2 separate regions of the Homo sapiens genome follow, and region 2 is linked to region 1. Evidence: promoter capture Hi-C in human tissues and cell types (Jung and others, 2019). All regions are on one chromosome and are shown on one strand. Each heading gives the region's core, a stretch centred on a gene start or on the middle of the fragment in contact. The rest is flanking DNA. Distances are from core to core; before and after follow the strand shown.

Evidence for each region. The method cuts DNA at HindIII sites, captures the fragments that hold promoters and counts their contacts. A contact is called where the count stands out against the background at its distance.
Region 2: a contact is called between a fragment that was not itself captured here and the fragment with the promoter of NAPEPLD in region 1, in 1 of the 25 tissues and cell types used here (hippocampus).

The regions. Positions count from the first base shown.
Region 1 is chr7:103,143,879-103,151,615 of GRCh38, forward strand. NAPEPLD (N-acyl phosphatidylethanolamine phospholipase D) reads right to left here and starts at 5,221. Exons shown (of 5, transcript NM_001122838.3): 1 at 4,933-5,221. LOC105375434 reads left to right here. Exons shown (of 3, transcript XM_047421168.1): 2 at 5,140-6,686. The coding sequence ends at 5,942. The HindIII fragment of the contact is 5,120 bases long and covers 2,285-7,404 here.
Region 2 is chr7:103,274,667-103,281,361 of GRCh38, forward strand. It overlaps the pseudogene DPY19L2P2. Among named protein-coding and RNA genes, the nearest start is that of PMPCB, 19 kb to the right of the region's middle. RefSeq lists enhancers at 5,163-5,212, 5,932-6,453 and a silencer at 5,673-5,822. The HindIII fragment of the contact is 9,582 bases long and covers 414-6,695 here.

The sequences.
Region 1 (7,737 bases), core at 3,971-6,470:
CCTTGATCAACACACTGCAGCCTTGAACTCCTGGCCTCAAGCAATCCTCCTGCCTTGACCTCCTAAAGTGCTGGGATTACAGACAGGAGCCACGGCACCTGGTCCATTTATCATTTACTAAGCATTTACTATGTACCAAGCACTTTAGATAATTATTATCCTCATGCTATAGGTGATGTAAAAGAGGCTCACAGAGTTTAATAGCTTCCATAAAGCAATAAAGTTGTTAACAGTTGGATCTAGGGATGAAACCCAAGTTGACCAGATGCCAAAGCCCATGCTCTTTCCACTAATCATGTTGAATCTACAAGGAAAATTCAATAAATTTATCTTGAGTAGATACCTAGGTTCTAAAGTTAGTAGCATTTTGCAAACAGTTATGGTCTCACTGACAAGGCTCACCTTTTCTTTTGTTTTGTTTTTTTGGCTTTCAACAAAATTTTCTCCCCTTTTGCAAAGTAAAAGGTACTTGGGAGATGCTCAATAAATACTAGTTCTCTTATAAATATAATTGCCCCTTTAATTTTACATGAAGAAGGTTTCAAATGCTATAACTTTCATTACTCAATTTTTCTAATTTACAGTTACATTGAAAAGAACCATCAACAAATAATTGGTTCTGTATTTTAGTCACATAAACAAAATACACATGGTACCTTGAAGACATTTCCTTTGCTTTCAAAAGGTGTCTCAGTTTATCCAGCATAAAACCACCTAACATGTTATCTTTCAAGCTGGGGAGAATGGCTAGTCAAGTCCCATAAAGAGAAACTGTCAGGTAGGAGGATCAACATATCTAGTTTGCCTGAGGATTTCCCAGTGTTAACATTTAAAGTCCTGCATCTTAGGCCAGGTGTGGTGGCTCACACCTGTAATCCCAGCACTTTCAGAGGCTGAATGAAGCAAGCAGATCATTTGAGGCCAGGAGTTCGAGACCAGCTTGGCCAACATGGCAAAACTCTGTCTCTACTAAAAATACAAAAATTAGCCAGGCATGGTAGTGCATGCCTGTAGTCCCAGCTACTCAGGAGGCTGAGGCACAAGAATTGCTTGAACCTGAAGGTGGAGGTTGCAGTAGGCTGAGATTGAGCCACTGCACTCCAGCCTGGGCAACACAGCAAGACTCTTGTCTCAAAAAAAAAAATTCCTGCATCTTGGGAACTCCCTTGGTTCTGGGAAAACCTGGAGGGTTGATCATTCTATGTCTCAGGTGACCATATAAATGCATAGTCATATCTTCAAAAAAATTTATAAATGTGTGCGCAGTTTAAACTAAATTGAAGATGAAGATTATAAAGTAAGATGTGAAGGTATTCGGGTGGCTAAGCAAAAGAAAAAAATTATAATGCTATACGTAATCAGGCTTAACTAAGACAATGTTGCTAAGAATACCAAAAAAGTTTATTAGATCAAATTCTTCATTCTGATGATATTCAATATGTGCATCATCAGTATTAGCGTTCACCCAGCTAAAAAAGAGGCTCCAAACAGCACATGTACATTTATATACAATCGGCATTTAGTCTACACATAAAAGTGAGACACTATATGAGGAAAGATTGAGAAAGAAAATCAACTTTCAGCCAAGAATTGTAAAGTATTTCATATCTGTGAAATGGTGGAAAAGCCTAATTTCAATGTTTCAATTTTGAGGTAATCATGACAGGCTAAACTCCTGTGACAGCAGAAATTAAAAATATGCACATTAAAGAGATTGGACCAGGTACATTCCCTCTAAGGTCCCTTCCAACTTGAACATTCCATGACAGAAGTCATCACTTGTGTGACCCTTTTACCTAATCGGTAAACCAAGTCAGGCCAGAGAGTTACATGACATTCCAAGGATCTAGCTCTGGCTGATGATGGAGCCTGGACTACGTATCAGCCATGCTGTCACCCTAATTATGCTTAAAAACACTTGGAACCGAAGGGGCATACAATCAGCATAGGAAGATAAATGACACATTTTACTTTATGTGGGGTATTTTACTTAGTTTGGCTTCAAGTTTAAAAAAAAAAAAAGAATTTGAGTCCAGAAACTCTTTAAGCTTTCATTGGCTACTTTTACCATAAAATAGCACAACATTCTGGAAAACACACACACACACACGCACGCACACACATATATGTTCAGAATATATAGACAGCTTAGTTTAGAGAGCTTTCCATGAGCTCTCTAAACAAACTGAAGGAACAAACACAGTAACTTGAACAGAGAACATCTTTGTAATTGAAGGACCTTCAAAATACAGAAAATAATAACTTTCAAAACTAATGACTGCTGTCATCCGGGTGTCCTATTAAGATGTGACCAGTTTTAGCTGGGTGTGGTGGCACATGCCTGTAATTCCAACTTCTCAGGAGGCTGAGGCATGAGTATCGCTTGAACACACGAGGCACAGGTTGCAGTCAGCCGAGATTGCCCCACCGCACGCTAGCTTGGGTGACAGAGCGAGACTCCGTCTCAAAAAAAAAAAAAAAGATGTGACCAGTTCAAGAGTGCTAGTGACAATGAGAAAGCTTGGTGTTTCTCTATTCATTCTTGTAATTGAGAGAGATTACAAAATCACGCAGAAGCCTACAGGCATTCAGTGTTAAATCAATATATTACTGTCCCTTAATCTGGGAAGGTGCCCAAATTAGATAAACACAAGAGTCTGCACCTTCAAGGGGAAAAATGGATTGTTCCAGGTAGCAGGCACAAACTGAGTTGTTTTTCAATCAAGATTTTGAATTATGCTGATCCATCTACATGCCAGACCTGTGCCTCCAGAGCCAACAGCACTGGCCATTCACAACCTGTTACCCACAGGCAGGGGTGCAATCTGTGAGTGTGTTGCTGACCAACGCTTGCTAATCCACACCCCTCCACTTTCGCTTCATTGGAACCCCGCTGTAACAAGAGTCTGCAGTGTATATATTCTGCTGAAGGCTGGGGCTGCTGAGCTAAGGTTCCTTGGCCAAATCACCAGACTCTCCCAGGCTCTTGGTGTCCTATTTTCCTCATCTGTGGAACAAGGCTCATATTTTATGTCTATAAAATCAAACTCTCTCTATATATATACATATATTTAAAATATTTGAAAGAGCTTTGTAAATGATAAAGTTATAATACATTATTTAACCAGCTGAGGTTGCAGAAGACTATCTCTAACATAAAACTGCCCCTGGGGATATATGAGTTCGTATGCAATCTGTCTCCAAAGTCTGTTAGTAAAATACTTAAATACACAATAAATGGTTAATAAATTCAAAAGACAAATCAAGCAAAGCACTATAAATTGTAGACAGAATTATTCAGTAGTATAGGCGTTAGAATGAAATATTACTTGAATCTTATGCTGGAAATCACATGGGTGATATTTTAATGCCAGTTTTATGCATGCCCTCACTGGCCTCCAGAATAAAAGTGCTCTTTAACGATTAATTATACATACAGTTCATTTCCCTAATAATACTTCAATGAAAACACTTTTTATGTGTATGCATTTCAACCTAAAAAGCCCAGATCAACAGTCCTCCAGCTATAGCTATATTCTTATTTACAAAGTGTAGAAAGCAATGGAAAAACTCACTATATCCACAGCTATCCATCACCACAAAGAAAAAGCAGAATGAAACAACAAAATTAAAGGCAAATACTGCTTTTCCAAACACAGACTAAATGTTCATAAAAATCCTCTCAGTTTACCAAACTCACAAATACTCAAAGTAACATAATACCCCTTTCGAACAAACACAAGAATGACTGTATCAACTAAAGTATAACCAAAACCCTGTGATGGAATGCTTATGCTAAAATGTTCTTCATATAGTTATAACTGGACTAATTTTAAAATTAGAATTTTGTAACATAGAATTTCTACAATATAATTTGGAATTCTGAGTGAAAATAAGGGTATGAGAAATACACTAAGTATTTTTATCTCTTGGAGACTTACCATAATTCTTGTAGCAGGAAAGCCTGCAGAATGTTAACAAAACAAAATCTCTGAAAATCCTGACTATATTTTCAGTTGACTTGAAACAAATTTAACCCCTCAATCTCTCCTTAAATTATTATTTTAAATAAGTACTTTTACCCTAAATTTCTTCTTTAACAGACCCAGTATTTTCTTGCAACAAAAATCACACTATTGTGGGATATAGGTAATCTTCTTTTTAAAGATTACATAACTTCTTTCTAAACGATGTCCATGTCTGCGGCTAATTCATAACCAATGTAACTGAAAATAGAAATGGAAATGTTAGAGATTTCCATTTTTTAACAAACATGGGAATTATTTCTCAATTTGAAGAACTGCATCTCAGGAATGACTTCCTGGACAAATTAATCAGAATTATCAAGTAGCAAACATTTCATGCTAAGCCAAAGCCAACCAGGTGAGTCAGTCATATTATAACATGTATATATAACAACGTACAGTAAAGGCAAAGACAAGAACTAAATGACTTTTTAAAAGGCTGTTAAACTTTACTCACTCCCTTAATATTTTCCAGGTTTAACTGACGTATAATGAATGCATGTGATCCCGGAACCCATGGAAGAGTATCTACCATATCGAGCTCTAGCTTGAAAAAAAAAAAAAAGGAAAAAACAAACAAACAAAACAACAACAACAAAAACCTATCTGAATACGTGTTCTGAAAAGCCCACAATAATACCCAATTTATAAGAAGCAAACAACCACAGAACAGAAAACTCAAGAAAGCACAGCCTTCCACCACCCCTCCCCAGCTAGCCCCATTTTTTTTTTTGCTCTTCATTTCCATTCCATAGTTAAATAAGTACACTTATTCCAAAATAAAAGGGGAGAAACCTGTTGGAATGGATTTTTAGAAGATAAACACTATAGATGAAGCAACAATAAGTTGCTCGGAGGAAGTTGTCGACCCATTCATTTACATACAACCAAAAGAAGATAAACCCACATGTATTCCTATCAGTGAAGATGCAACCTGGTAATTTGCAGGGAAGATAGGATCTCAAATCCCAGACAGCTACTCTCCCAAAGAGAAAAAAAATAATGCTGTGGCTCTTCACCGAGGCAGCTTCAGAGATGCAGGCTCCGCAACTCGCGAGGTGCGAAAATTCAAATGAAGCCCTGTCGCTCACAAGTGCGGCATCTCCGAGATGAGGGAGGGCTCGGGGACGGGAAACCCACTCTCAGCCCGCTCCACTTCGCCGAAGAATTCCAAACCACCCCAGGCTCAGCAGTGTGGATTGCTCCGCCCAGAGACCGTGGAGGAGGCAGCAGAGAGGTCACAGAGCACAGCAGGCGGGAGAAAACCGCCTCCCGCGAGGTCCAACAGAAACCACGGAGCTCCGGACACTCGGGATCCCGGGCCGCGGGCGCGCGGCCAGAGCGGCGGGGTGCGAGCGCGGGGGTGCGGACTCACCTCGCGCTTGGGGTGGCCGGGAGCGCGCGCCGCCTCAGTTCCGCGGCTTCCGGCCACAGAGTCCCCGCGCAAAGCGCCGCCGCGTAGCGGGAGGGGCGACCGCGGCAGGCGCTCGGGTTCTTCCTAACCCGAGCCCGCCGCGCTGGCTCCGCCGAGGACGCCAGCAGCTGCAGGCAGCGCTTCAGCTCTCGCCGCCTCGCCATCGTTGGGGCGAGTCGTCGCCGGGTCACTCCCTTATTATGACCTTCGAATCTGACAGCAGGGCCAGCGGTGGCCTCCTTCAGGCTGCCTCTCCAGCCCTTACCAAGATGGCCGCCCCTGTGGGCCGGGGCGCCGAAGCCATCTTGGTAAAGGAAGCGCCTGGGAGCACGCGGCCTGCCCCGGCCCGCCTCGCGACTCAAACACTCTGCAGGGACCCTCCTAAGATCAAATTGGTTCCCCCCGCTGTCCTAAGCCAGAGGCTTACTTTCAGATCGCATGAACGCATTCCTGGACACCAGCCACAGTTGCTAAAACTAAATGGGATCCTGCAGACCCATTGACGGACTGTCATAGCCAACTCAATCACAGTCGAGAAGCATTTGAATACTTACAGCCTATGGCGCTAGGATCCTGGTAGCGAAGAAACTAAACTCTAATTTGAAATGTTGTACAGTACGTATTGAATATTAATGGGAGCACGGCATTGTTCACTGTGTGATCGTTTACTTTTAAAATGATGTCACAGCCCCCTGGTACACACGGTTCTCATCTAAATTTGCATCTTTTTTAACGCTAGGATAACTATGAAAGAGCATACGATTGTGATTCTGAGTTTCTTACTGGATTTGCTTTTTAAACTGCAGAATGAAATTAGTTGTTTCAAGAAGTAAAGTACAGGCATGTCGAAGTAAAATTCAACAATGGGTTGTTGGGCAAAAAGATTATAAAAGTCCTGGGGTGTGCCAGGGTCAAAAAAAAAAAAAAAAGCTTGTCCCTGGGGTTATCTTGGCAAAAAAGAAACCACCACCACAGGTTCTAAATGCAGATAAGACTGGCAGAAAAATGCAGACCAAACTATTCTGCATTTTGAAAGTGAATGTGCCTGTGTGACATTGGAGGAATGTAAAGAACTGTATGTCAAGTGTGGACTTTATCTCCTCAGGCTAGCTTAGAGTGGCTGCTGAACTTAAGGGTGATTAAGAGCTGCTTGCACCTGGGTGGAGCTGAAACTGCATAAGGTGAATAATACCTTTGTGCAACAGAAGAAAAAAAAAAAAGTAACAGCATACATACAAACCCAAAGGGTAAGTTGAAGTTACTACTCAAAAGTTCTTCATAGTGTTCTTGACTAAGCAACGGAGAAGTAATCCCGGCACTTTGGGAGGGCAAGGCAGGAGAATCCTTAGAGCCCAGGAGTTGGAGACCAACTTGGGCAACATAGCGAGACTTCATCTCTACAAATAATAATTAAAAAAAAAAAAAAGTAGCCAGCCTTGATGGCCCGCCCTTGTGGTCCCAGCTACTCCAGAGGCTGAGGTGGGAGGATCGATTGAGCCTGGGAGATCAAGGCCGCAGTGAGCTGTGATCACGCCACTACACTCCAGCCTGGGCAACAGAGAAGACCCCATTTCCCCAAAAAAAAAAAAAAAGCTGGGCGCAGTGGCTCACGCCTGTAATTCCAGCACTTTGGGAGGCCAAGGCAGGAGGATCACCTGAGGTCAGGAGTTCGAGACCAGCCTGGCCAACATGGCGAAACCCTGTCTCAAGTAAAAATACAAAAACTAGCTAGGCATAGTGGAGCTCACCTGTAATCCCAGCTACTAGGGAGGCTGAGGCAGTAGAACTGCTTGAACCCCAGAGATGGAGGTTGCAGTGAGCAAAGATGGCACCACTGCACTCCAGCCTGGTAGACAGAGCAAGACTCTGTCTCAAAAAAAAAAAAAAAAAAAAGATGCCCTTTGTTCCCCTCACTCCCACTCTTTTTTTTTAAGTCCTTGTCCTTTATTGGTTAAGGCTGAGGGAAGCAGACAGACCAGTTGGACATAGTAGATGGGTGTGTGAGGTCAAAGTGCTACCTGAAAGCCAGCCAACCCACACTCCCCTAAGATGAATGCTAATGCCCTTCAAACTGTGGGCATTGGTTTCACACACAGCCTCTTCCAGGGATAAAAGAAGGGGTTCTTGTAAAGCCTCTTCTTTTTTCTTTTTTTTTTGAGACGGAGTCTCGTTCTGTCACCCAGGCTGAAGTGCAGTGGCCAGATCTTGGCTCGCTGCAACCTCTGCCTCCCAGATTCTCCTGCCTCAGCCTCCTGAGTAGCTGGGACTACAGGTGCCCACCACCATGCCCGGCTAATT
Region 2 (6,695 bases), core at 3,955-6,454, 130 kb after region 1:
GTGTATTTACAATCCTTGAGCTAGACATAAAGACTCTCCACGCCCTCACCAGAGCAGCTAGATACAGAGTGTTGACTGGTGCACTCACAAACCTTGAGCTAAACACAGGGTGCTGATTGGTGTATTTACAATCCCTGAGCTAGATATAAAGACTCTCCACGTCCCCACCAGACTCAGGAGCCCAGCTGGCTTCACCTAGTGGATCCTGCACTGGGGCTGCAGGTGGAGCTGCCTGCCAGTCCTGTGCCGGGCGCTCGCATTCCTCAGCCCTTGCGTGGTCGATGGGACTGGGCGCCGTGGAGCAGGGGGTGGTGCTCGTCGGGGAGGCTCAGGCCGCACAGGAGCCCATGGATTGGGTAGGAGGCTCAGGCATGGCGGGCTGCAGGTCCCGAGCCCTGCCCCGTGGGAAGGCAGCCAAGGCCCAGCGAGAAATCGAGCGCAGCGCCGGTGGGCCAGCACTGCTGGGGGACTCAGTACACCCTCCGCAGCCACTGGCCCAGGTGCTAAGTCCCCCATTGCCCGGGGCCAGCAGGGCTGGCTGGCTGCTCTGAGTGCGGGGCCCACCAAGCCCACGCCCACCCGGAACTCCAGATGGCCCGCAAGTGCAGCACACAGCCCCGGTTCCCGCTCGTGTCTCTCCCTCCACACCTCCCTGCAAGCTGAGGGAGTGGGCTCCGGCCTTGGCCAGCCCAGAAAGGGGCTCCCACAGTGCAGTGGGGGACTGAAGGGCTCCTCAAATGCCACCAAAGCGGGAGCCCAGGCAGGGGAGGTGCCGAGAGCAAGCAAGGGCTCTGAGGACTGCCAGCATGCTGTCACCTCTCGGTCTGGCTATTCTTAAACCACAAATTAATTCGTTAGAAGAAGAAACCTAACCGTTTCAATGCAAAAAGTCATCTCCCGTTCCAAAGATGAGAGGTGAGAGAAATGATGATCATTTTCAAAAAGTGTTACTAAATGTAACCTAGAAAAAAATGAAGAATCATATTAAAATAAGAACAAGTTTCAAAACTAACAGTAAAATAAACAATAAGAAAGCCATAAAAAAGAAAACAATAAATTGTTATAATATTAATTTTATAATTTGCTTACTAACTTGTATGTTTTTCGGCATTTATAATCCAGTATGGCACACACCTGAAATTCCTTAACTCAGTGGTTTTTAAGCTTAATTGTGGCCGGGTACGTTGGCTCATGCCTGTAATCCCAGCACTTTGGGAGCCCGAGGCGGGCAGATCACTTGAGGTGAGGAGTTCGAGACCAGCCTTGCCAACATGGTGAAACCCCGTCTCTACTAAAAACACAAAAATTAGCCAGCCATAGTAGTGCATGTCTGTAATCCTCGCTGCTAGGGAGGCTGAGGCAGGAGAATTTCTTGAATCCAGCAGGTGGAGGTTGCAGTGAGCAGAGATCATGCCACTGCACTCCAGCCTGGGTGACAGATAGAGACTCTGTCTCAAAAAAACAAAAACAAAAAAAAACCTTAATTGTATATCTAAAATTCTTGTGGCTTTTTTCACCCTTCCTTCCATCCCAGGCCTCTAAATCAGAACAGAGGCAGGTTAGTGTTTGTTTTTTAAGTTTCAAGTGATTCTAATGTACCAGCCTTGGGAAATACCTCCATAACTGTTGAAGAGGGTTCAGAATATAATTTTAAATAAAATTACTTTAGATCAAAGCAGACTTACAATAAGTATAATATCACATAAAAGATCAACTTTCAAGTGCCAAAGAATACAGGTGTGTACTTGAAGACCTTTTAGTAGTGAAACTCAACAGCTATAGGCAGTGAAGAAAAGAGCATATGTGATAAACAAAATTAGCTATGGCCAACAATTATGCTATAGCTAACTTATGTAGTCAGTACTTTCCAGTGAAGTTGAAAATAAAGCAAAGTTCCATATATTAACCCTGTTTTCCACTAACCCTTCTTTACATGTAGGCCATATGCCAGGGTACCAAAAACTGCAGGAATATTCCCTACCATTGCAGCCTCAGTTCTAACATCAAAATCTCCCTGCAGACTAAATGTCTAGAGCAGCACTGTGTCAATAGAACATAGGGGCAGATCTCATACCTCCCAAGGGTAGAAATCACTGAGCACAGGTAAAAATAAAATATTTCAGAAGGAAATATTATTTTACAAATTTTTATAAACACTTTTGTAAAATAATGTACACAGGCTTGCACACTGAAAGACTCAGAGCCATTTAACCATATAACCACTGCAGAATCTTTACCTTCTTTTTTACCTGATTTCCAATTGGCAGGTGTTACTAAAACTTTATCACCAAAGTTATTTCACTGGCTGAGTGTGGTGGCTCATGCCTGTAATCCCAACACTTTGGGAGGCCGAGGCAGGTGGATCATTTGAGGCCAGGAGTTTGACACCAGCCTGGCCAACATGGTGAAACCTTGTCTCCACCAAAAATACAACAAATTGGCTGGGTCTGGTGGTGCACACCTGTAATCCCAGCTACTTGGAAGGCTGAGGCACAAGGATCACTTGTGCCTGGGAGGCAGAGGTTGCAGTGAGTCAAGATCACACCACTGCACTCCAGCCTGGGAGACAGAGCAAGACTCTGTCTCAAAAAAAAAAAAAAGTTATTTCACTAGCAACATATAATTACCATAAAGTAAAGGAAGGTTTTAAATGAACTACACATGCAAAACACACTAGAAAAGCTAGATATTTAAAGAAACGTGTGGTGAATTATTTGGTAAAGCAAAAATATTTTAATTCATAAGTTACTATTCCCCTAATGCATCTATTTTGTAAATGCTGTTTCACATATGAGGTTTGTAAAAAAGCAAAATACATGTATAAATTGGTGCACATAAAGATGTTCTACAAATATAGCCAGAAGTTATTGTTTTACTGTATGCAAAGAGTGATGGCAATTTTTAATTCAAATGTTTTTAAATATTTCAAACTGAAACTACATCTTACCAATGTAGAATTGCCACAAAGACGGCTGGAATAAAGAAAAAAAGGAAAGTTATTAATAGCTGCTTTATTATAAAATACCATTAAAACAAGTATTTCAAATGTATTATTTTACATGTCTAGAAAGATAGCACACAAAGCAAGACCGCCAGCTAATCCTGTCTCTGTGAGCATAGGAAAAAATCCAGGACACAAAGCAAATTCTGAACAGAGCTTACCTCTCTGCAGCAGGGCTTGATAAGCAAAGGGAGAAACTTGAGAGGGTTTTTTAACTTCAGGTAATTGGTAAGAGTGATGGAATTATGGAAGATTGTGACCTTTTTTGTTTTTTTTCCAGTATTATTTTCTATTCCTTTATATGAAATTTTTAAAAGTAGTAAGTATATACAGTATGCTTCAGCTAGTTCTAACCAAGAGGAGCCACTCTAGATCAGTTTCTCTAGCATTCATCGGAAGATGATTAAATGCAGGAAATCACTTCCTCAGCAGCACATCTAAAAGCCCCAATGTGCAGCTCAACCCTTGATGAATTGCAAGCTTTTTGCAAGAGCCCAGACCTAGGAGCTACTAGATGGCCTAGGATACTAGTATGGAGTCACCTGGGCCAATGCCCCATGTATACATAAGACTTCACCTGGGAGCTGGGAGACACGGCTCTGGGTATGGAGCTTTTACAGGAGCTGCAAACACAGCCTGTGCCCCTGTTTGGTTGGGGAATTCCTTGTTTTCAATTCCCCTGGAGAGAGAAGAGTGGGGAATAGAACAAGTTAAAACACCACAAACTTTGCTGTTCTTATAGAGGTTCAGCAGCTTTTCTTGAATTAATGCCCTTTACATTGTTGTAAACCTTTGGTTAATTTCCAAAGTTTTGAAGGAAATGATTTTGATAATTTTCCAAGTATTTTCATTGTCGTCATGGAGGAGTGCATTTCCTTGGCTATTCCAGAAGTCCTACTTCCCTTCTGAGATTTTATAATGGTATTTCTTATGGTTATCCCAAATATACTTGGCAAGTCATCTTATAAACCACCAATAATAGCCTCTTAAAAATTCAAAAATTACTTCACTTGGCTAACAAAATAAATGCAAATTAATTCAATAATTATTGAAGAAATTAAATTTTTAAAAATTAAAAAATTGCAATGTTGAAATTCTCAACCATGCTTACCCAGATCTTTTCCTATATTACTAACTGTCCTGGGCTTATCTTAAACACTTCTCGGAAGATTTACTTGTTTTATACCAGGATAGGCAAAGTATGGCCCATGGTGTATTTTTGGACTGTCTGCAAGCACGGTTGCTATAATTTTTAAAAGGTTGAAAACTTTAAATGGTTGTAAAGATGCTCATTAATTGTTTATTAGGCTTCATTAATTTTAAAATATACAGACTATCCTGTTCAACTATATTTGTATCCTATTTCTAATTCTCCTAACAATTATATACACTGGCAAAAACTCTTCAGATGATACATAAGGAAAAGGTCAAATATAGTACCAAATTCATCCAGCTTTCCAAAGATGCTCAAAATCTTTCTGTCTCTCACTCCCTCCCTTAACCCACATACCACATATGAAAAAAATGATAAGGTGTAATGATGCCAGTATTCTAAATGCTTGAAGGGCTTATCACATGCCCTTTCCAAGCTGTGACAGAAGCATGTCCCCTGGACCCCAGCATCCTATCAATCTCACCTCTGAAGGTGACCCAGCCTCATACTTCACTGAAACAAAGACCATTAGACGCCAGCACTCCCAGCTTCTTTCATCTCCACTTTAACATTTCTCCATATAGTAATTCTTGCTTTTCTACTCCCTGCCATCTCAGAAAAGGAATTCTCTCTCCTCTTTTCCACAGTTAGCTTCTCACATTTGTGCCTTTAATTCTACCCTTCCAAATATTCCAAGACTTGCTCCACTAATTATTTCCTCTCTTGGAATCTTAATCTCATCCTCTTCCCTTGATCCTTCCCCTCAGCCTTTAAAACTCCTAGACCTTAAAACACTCTCTGCGATCTGACAGCCCTTCAAACCAATATACTCCCTATCTCTCTCTCTCCCCTGGTTCAATGACAAGATTTTTGGCCAACTTCTGTCTACTCGGACCTTGCTATTATTTCCTACTAGGGACCCACAAACCCTTGCTTGTTAAACTGATCTCCTTCAAGACTGAAGAAAAGCGCGATGCGCCTCCCTCCTAGGGCTCTCCTGACCTCTCCTTACCGATGCAGAGTGGTTCTGCTGGGGAACCACCGCGCCTGCAGTTCGTGCACCTCTTCCCGGAGCTGCGCCAGGGAATTACAGACGAACTGGAAGGGGCCGAGAAGGGCCTTGGCCACCACCTTTAGCTCCAAGCCTTTTCGCTTTTTCAGATTTGGGATCCTCCCCGGGGAGGACCTCCTGGCGCCCCCCGGCAGTTTCCCGCCGCCTAGGGCCGACTTTTCCACCTCCCGCTCCCGGGCGGGGGAGGCCCCGCAGGGCCGCTTAGACGGGCTGGGGCGGGAAGATTGCAGCGGCTTTGGGCTTACTCCTTGTTTCTTCATAATTCCTAGTGGAGCTGGGTCAATTTCAGGCACAGCCCAGCCGAGTCAGGCGAGGTCCAGAAAGGCCTGACTCGCCTGGCAGCCTCAACGGACTTGTCCCCGCAGCCGTTGACGAGCCGTTGACTAGCGGACCTCCTGGTCGTCATGGCGACTGTGAAATGTAGGGTGGGGCGCATGCGTTGGAAGCCATTCGCGCGGGCAGTCCCTGCGTGTCCCCCCACGTGCTCCCCAGCGCGCGCAGCACCCCCGCCTCCGCGCTTCCCCGAGCGTGCAGCTTCCGGTGAGGGCAGCCCCACGCACAGCCCCCCACACCCTCCCCAGCGCCTGCAGACTTCGGTGCGCGCAGTTCCTAAGCCCACATGCGCAGTTCTCACCTTGCGCGCAGCCTCACGTACAGCCCCCGACAGGCTCCCAGCCCCACTGGCGCAGAACCCATCACCGCTTGCCCTTCACGCGCTTCATTGGGAGTGCAGCCCCCACCCCGAGCGCACAGCTCCACGCAGCCTCTCCACACTCTCCCCAGCGCCTGCAGCACCCGCAGTGCGCACAGCTCCGCCAGTAGCTTCCCCGCGCGCCGCCCCTGCACCGCTTCGGGCCATAACCTTGCTGGCGACTAAGTCTGAAGAACTTCCCGTGGTTTCATTCTTTTCTTCGCGTTTAGTCTTAGCTCTGACATTTTAACCAAAAGGTTACACGTTAATTAACGAGGTATTGAAGGGGAAGATCTCAGCTGAAAGAAATGACTGTAGGAAGTGTGTCAGGGAAGCCAACGGAACCGCCGGCCCGCCGGTGGTGCTCCGGGCATTAGGAACGTCTCTGCTCTCCTACGATCGCTGAGGTATCGGACAGTCAGTGCCCGTTGCCAACACGGAGGGAACGGGCCGAGACTGCGGGCAACACGTGGCAGAGCCGGCGTGAGTCTGGTGGGTCTGATCCCAGAGCCTCAGGTTGACGCCCCTTCCTTGGCACGGGACAGCGTTTACTGAATCTTAGGGGAAAATGCTTTTCCAATAAGGTTCCTCAGAAGTCATCAGCCCTAGGAGCGGTGTGCTCAAGCGCTTTCAGCACCAGCCAGGACCAACTAAGAGGGGAGCGCTTAGCTCCCAGTCACCGCACAGCCCTACAAGAGGCCAAAGCGGCTGGCACAGATGCACTGGGGCCACTGACATTTTCCATGTCCTCTGTCACGGGCCACATGCTGGAGCCCAC